Regions from separate parts of the Homo sapiens genome. Here region 1 is linked to region 2. Evidence: promoter capture Hi-C in 16 types of primary human blood cells and fetal thymus (Javierre and others, 2016). All regions are on one chromosome and are shown on one strand. Each heading gives the region's core, a stretch centred on a gene start or on the middle of the fragment in contact. The rest is flanking DNA. Distances are from core to core; before and after follow the strand shown. Region 1 overlaps RBM28 (RNA binding motif protein 28). Region 2 holds the start of LEP (leptin).

What was found. Contacts are between HindIII fragments. The CHiCAGO score rates a contact against its expected background, and 5 or more counts as called.
Region 1: a contact is called between a fragment that was not itself captured here and the fragment with the promoter of LEP in region 2, in 2 of 17 cell types (megakaryocytes and neutrophils). The highest score is 5.4, in megakaryocytes.

Annotation. Positions count from the first base shown.
Region 1 is chr7:128,334,461-128,337,640 of GRCh38, reverse strand. RBM28 (RNA binding motif protein 28) reads left to right here. Exons shown (of 19, transcript NM_018077.3): 6 at 439-510; 7 at 1,599-1,794; 8 at 1,962-2,098. Among named protein-coding and RNA genes, the nearest start is that of RBM28, 7.9 kb to the left of the region's middle. The HindIII fragment of the contact is 3,765 bases long and covers 1-3,163 here.
Region 2 is chr7:128,240,012-128,242,970 of GRCh38, reverse strand. It overlaps LEP (leptin), which reads right to left and starts at 1,693. Exons shown (of 3, transcript NM_000230.3): 1 at 1,665-1,693. RefSeq lists a cis regulatory region at 1,739-1,747 and promoters at 1,665-1,911, 1,665-2,959. The HindIII fragment of the contact is 7,258 bases long and covers 1-2,959 here.

The sequences.
Region 1 (3,180 bases), core at 32-2,531, 95 kb before region 2:
GTTGCAGTGAACTGAGATGGCACCACTGCACTCCAGCCTGGGCGACAGAGCGAGACTGTGTCTCAAAAAAAAAAAAAAGAAGTTATTGCCGTAGAGATGTCCTAGCTTCCAGGTAGGGTGCAGATGATTCCAGAATGCCTGTTTTGATTCCTGATAGTCTAACTGGAAACATAGTTCTAATTCTTTATTTTTTTACTCCATCTTATCCCAGGTGTGGTGGCTATGTAGAAAGGCAAAATTTCTGTTCATTGATAAAAAGGTTAAGGGTTAAAAGGAGTAGGCAGTGACTAGGAGCTTTATTTTAAGACCAGCATTCCCTGAATTGGCAGTTTCTTTGTCTCCACTGGTTCCATTATTGTCTGTGATGACTAGGGGTCATTTACAGAGGTAGGGTTTTTAAAAGGAGAGCCTTTCTGATGCCACTTTTCTGCTTGACAGGCCGGACAGTGGCTGTGGATTGGGCCGTGGCAAAGGATAAATATAAAGATACACAGTCTGTTTCTGCTATAGGTAAGATGTGGTAGTGTTGGGTGAGTAGGGGCGTTGTATAACCTGGGTGAGAGTATTGAAACAACTCCTGTGTTCATGATAAAAGTGTAAGAAAAAGGCTGGGTGCAGTGGCTCTTGCCTGTAATTCCAGCACTTTGGGTGGATTGCTTGCAGTCAGGAGTTTGAGACCAGCCTGGCCAACATGCAAAACCCCATCTCTACTAAAAATACAAAAATTAGCTGGGCTTGGTGGTGGGCGCCTGTCATCCCACCTGCTTGGGAGGCTGAGGCAGGTTCTTGAACCTGGGAGGCAGAGGTTGCAGTGAGCCGAGATCACCCCACTGCACTCCAGCCTGGGCAACAAAACGAGACTTCGTCTCAAAAAAAAAGTGTAAGAGAACCTGCTTATCAGAGTAAGACTATTGTGGAAGATTAACCAAAAGAATGAGACTGGGCTTTCAGGGAAAACTCTGAATTCCTGCTGGCTCAGAAGTGAGTCCAGGTCTGTTTGTCAATTCATATTGTACCATTTGGTGCTCTGGTCCCAAAACCTAGGCTCTTTTGAGTCTAAGCCCCTTCCTGGGAGTGGCTGTGAGTGAGCCTGAGTTCACTGTCCCCTTTACTTGCTGTTGTTTCCAGGCTGTGCATAATAGGAGTGATGGAACATTAAGAATAGAGAAACTTAAAACTTGAGGTTTATTTAGAAAACAATTGGCTGGTAAGCCACCAGGGTCTCAGAGAATAGAACGCACTGAGATTAAAGTTCATGGCTTGGCTTTGCCCCCTAGTGAGCATTTTGCTGGCTATGATGTACGAATGGTAGACTGCTTGGAGAGGCTCAGTTGCCACTTCTTTCAGTCTGGGCCAGATGAACCTTCAGACTGATGAATGGGACAAACTCTAAAGGAATCTGGGTGTTGAGAGTTTTGTTTATTTCTGTTTTTGCTTTTTCTTTTCTTTATACTTTCTCCTGTTATATGCAGTAAGAAAAATATACGAAATTCTGTAAAACCGATGAAACCAAGAACTTGGAGTATTGGTTACTTTTGTTAAAATAACATTGTTTTGGATATTAAATGAATTCCTCCTTTCTTTACCTCCCTCCATAGGTGAGGAAAAGAGCCATGAATCTAAACATCAGGAATCAGTTAAAAAGAAGGGCAGAGAGGAAGAGGATATGGAAGAGGAAGAAAACGATGATGATGACGATGATGATGATGAAGAAGATGGGGTTTTTGATGATGAAGATGAAGAGGAAGAGAATATAGAATCAAAGGTGACCAAGCCTGTGCAAATTCAGAAGAGGTAAGCAGCTCATCCTGTTCTGAGACAGCAGAGGAAGATTCAAGATTGTCTCCGAGAGGAAAAATTCTCCTTTTTCTGCCTGCATCATTGCAGAATTGACATGTGTAATGAAATTGAATAGGCCCTCTGTCAGCCCACCTCCTTAGTTCTGATCTGTGCCATTGCAGAGCAGTCAAGAGACCAGCCCCTGCAAAAAGCAGTGATCATTCTGAGGAGGACAGTGACCTAGAGGAAAGCGATAGTATTGATGATGGAGAGGAACTGGCTCAGAGTGATACCAGCACTGAGGAGCAAGAGGATAAAGGTTTGTTTGGATTTTCATAAATGTCTTTAGACTTTAAAAAAGTTACTGAAGTTACGGAAATGAGCATCAGTTCTGCTTAGATCTCTTTTTAAATAGGACTCTAAGGTGTTCTATCAAATTTATGTTTAAATGCTGAAAAGGAAACCTTTATACTCCTTTCTTCCAAAGGTTTTTTTGTTGTTTCCTTTTTGTTTGTTTTGTTTTTTAAGTGAGTTTTGGAGTGGTGTTTGAGGGTTAAGATTCTTAGGGAATTGAAAACCTAGCTTAATGCTGAGGTTCTACCTCTCTCTGGATTGTCCAACTTGATAGAATAACCAGGTAAACAGCATCTTATACAGATAATATAGATGAAACAGATGATATAACCATCTCAACATCAAGCTAGATTTTAAACAACTCCTTGGAGTTGAGATGGGGATAAAGAACTGTTTAGTCAGTTTGGACTGACATAACAAAATACCATAAACTGGGTGGCTTAAACAGCAGAAACTTATTTTCTCACAGCTCTAGAGGCTAGAAGTCCCAGGTGCCAGCTGATTCATTTTGGGTGCAGCTCTCTTCCTAGCTTGCAGACTGCTGCCTTCTCGCTATGTGCTTGCATGGCCTTTTCTTTGTGGCTTGACGAGGGGAGAGAGAGAACAAGTAACAGTGAACTCTGGTCTCTCTTTTCTTATAAGCACAGCAATCCTATCAGATTAGGGCCCAACCTTAAGACCTCATTTAGCTAGCCTCAGTTACCTCCCTAAAGTCTCTGTCTCCAAATACAATTATATTTGGGGTTAGGGCTTCAATGTATGAATTTTGGGGGAACACAGTGCGTTCCATAACAAGGACCTCTTTGAACATGTTGTAAAACTTTAGCCAATCCTTATTGCTACCTTTATTGAGAATAAATTCAACTTGTTTATTGAGGAAGGCAGGTCATTACAGAATGAGAAATGGCTAATAACTGGTTCTTTGATTTGTCTGGGTGGAGATTTTTATTTCAGCTGTTTTTATTCTGATTCCATTTCAGTAAGTCTGACATGTTGGTTTGACCATATAAGAAATCTGAGGAAATAAGCTTTTTCTGTGAGGAGAGA
Region 2 (2,959 bases), core at 444-2,943:
AAATCATACCAGTGCTGTTCACAGATGCACAAGACACAAGGACTCTACCTTCCTGGAGCCCCTCTTCTCTCCTTGGCTCCCACGCCCCTGGTGGCATCTAAGCGGGGGTGGGACATTGACCCAGGTTCCGTGGCGGCCACCTCCACGCTCTGCATGGGCCACTCAGACGTGCAAGGCATCTGCCTGGGGCTGACGGGCAGGAATTCATTGCAACTTCCCTGGCTCTGTCCTTGGCACTTGGAGCCATTTCCTGGAATGGACGGGGAGGAAAATATTTCCCCAAATACCAAGAAGAGTTATTTTGGGTATAAAATGTACAAAATATGAGGAGGACGCTCCTTTAGCCAATGTGGAAATGTTCCCCTCAGCCCAATGTCCACAACTGCTTGGGAAGGGAAAGAACCTAAAAGCATCCACTGTTTCTCTCTTGCCTTGTCTCCCTGCCTAAGTGAGAGAAATGATCAGTGTGGCCTTCTTGTTTCTAAGGGCATTAGAACAGGAGCACTCACGTTGCTAGAAGCCTCCATATCTGGTTCTGCAGACAATCCTAATATGAAAGAGATTGGCAAAATTCCCCAGTTCCAGCTGCCCATGGCCCACCTCAGAATCCTACAGAACAAACACAACTCCGGCTGCCAGAGGTCATTCTGCACTGCAAAGGAAGAGAGCCTGTGCTCCTGGAACGGTACCACCAAGTCTCTGCTCTTCACCCACCTCCCCAAAGATCACCCTTCCAACAGAAATTAATCACCTCTTGGAAGCTGCTATTCTGAAATGACAGCCAGGCCACTTGTCTCACTTGGACCTAACTGTATTTAAGGAGTCACTTTCCCAAAGCACCACTATCTTTAAACTATAGAAACAGGAGTGTAAAGGCGATGGCACCCACAGTGAAATCCAAACCAAGCCCAGACTGAAGGAAGGCTATAGGTGAGCCTGGTGGGCCAACAGCGCGTATTTAGCAGTCCTGGCTAGAAGTTCCCTAATAACCAGTTCTGACCCCCAGAGACACCTCATTGTATGCATTGCAAAGAAGGCAATTTGCATGGCTTTGAGGACAGATCTGGTAAGACCCTGCACAATTTCTCTGGAAGATTTTGAGTCTTCCTGACACTTGTTTCCCCCCACCTCTACTCATCCTTGCCTTCCTCCCAGGCATTGGCCTTACACAGCCCCTCTCATTCAGAGGTCAGGAACTTCCCTGGAAAATGAATCCTGAATTCCTACCCGCAGAGCAAGGCAATGTCTGGGACTGAGACTGATCACTTGCATCTGCGTCTCTCCTACCCCCAACTTTATCTCCTTCAGACTGGGGTGGGACATCCTGATCTTTGGGGATGTGCCCAAGGCAATTTCCAATGCATCTCAGCTCTGCGAATGCCACCAGGTTGGTGGGTCTGACAGTCTCCCAGGGACCTGGCTGGTTCTGCAAGGTCCTGCCTTCTGGGCACCGGCACAGCCCAGCAGCAAATCCAACGCTCCCCAGCTCCCGGTAACCTTCTATCTGGCTAGAACTCGGTACAAAGCTATCATAGTCCAGAACTAAGCCATCCGCCCTGCATCCCTCCTGACTCAGTTTCCCCGGGATCCAGAGTTGTGTGGGGCCCTGTGGCCTGCCAAGAAAGACCAGCAGAGAAGGAGGAAGGAGCGCGCCGGGGCCTTACCTTGCAACCGCTGGCGCTGCGATTCCTACGGGGCTCCATGCCTGCCCGCCCCTCTTATAGCGGCCCGATCACAACTTGCGCAACTGCCCCGCAGGCCCCGGCGCATTTCTAGCGCCAGCTCCCGCCCCGCCCCTCAGGGTAGCGACGTGCCGGGCGGCTGCTAGCCCTGGGCCCGCAGTGTGCACCTCGCGGGGCCTCGAGGGAGGGCCTCGGCGCGCCAGGAGCCACGCGCGCACCCTTGGGTACCTCCCAAAAATTTGGGGGTGGCTGGTAGGAGCGAGAAATCCTTGATGTCCCTCCAGAGGCTCCGGCGCGACTATGGCGCAAGGACCAGCCCCTTGGGAAGGTGCTTCGAGCCGCGCGGGGCGCGGTCGGGGCGGGGGTGGCTGTGAGGGGCTCCGCGGAGCGGGCTGGGGCATACGGCTGCGCCCTCGTTGGTCCTGGCGCGGCTTCGGGGTGGGAGCGAATCGGGACTCGGCCCCGACGGCCCTGGACGCCAGGGAAGCCCAGGGTTAGAGGGAGCGGCCCGCAGTGCGCCAGGCTCCCCGACCCAGATTGCGGGGTTGGGGGTTCTGAAGTCCCACCCCTTCTCTGGCACGCGGAGAATCGAGTTCCAAGCCTCAGGGCAAGTTGTCTCTGGCTGGCACCCCAGGGAGTGCACGCTCTCTGGAGGGCTCCAGGCGGGCACTGTGGCCTTTGGGGACACTCTGGACATACTGTGGGTCTCCATCCTCAACTCCGTATTTCCTACGTACAAAGTGGGGGTTGGGGGGTGGTCCCAGATGTAGCCACGTTTTTGTCATCATAGCCTGTGAGTGGTGTGGTAGGCATGTTTCACCTGTATCGTTTGTAGTTCCCCGCTTTACATGATGGGTTGGTTTGTTTTGTTTTGTTTTGTTTTGTTTTACCCTTGGGCTTCAGGGATGAGGAATCTAAGGTCCAGCGAGGTTAAATGACTTTCCTTAGAATCCACAGCTGGTAAGGAATAGCAATGGGCTAGGAACCCAGGCCTATTCTGGTCCCCACTGCGCAGAGCAGCTCCAAAAACAAACCACTCCATTGAGAACCAACCCAGCCAGGCGTGGTAGCTCAAGCCTGTAATCCCAGCACTTTGGGAGGCCAAGGTGGGTGGATCACCTGAGGTCAGGATTTCGAGACCAGCCTGGCCAACATGGTGAAACCTCATCTCTACTAAAAATACAAAATTAGCCAGGTGTGGTGGTGAGTGTCTGTAATCCCAGCTACTTGAGAGGCTGAGGCAGGAGAATGGCTTGAACCTGGGAAGTGGAGGTTGC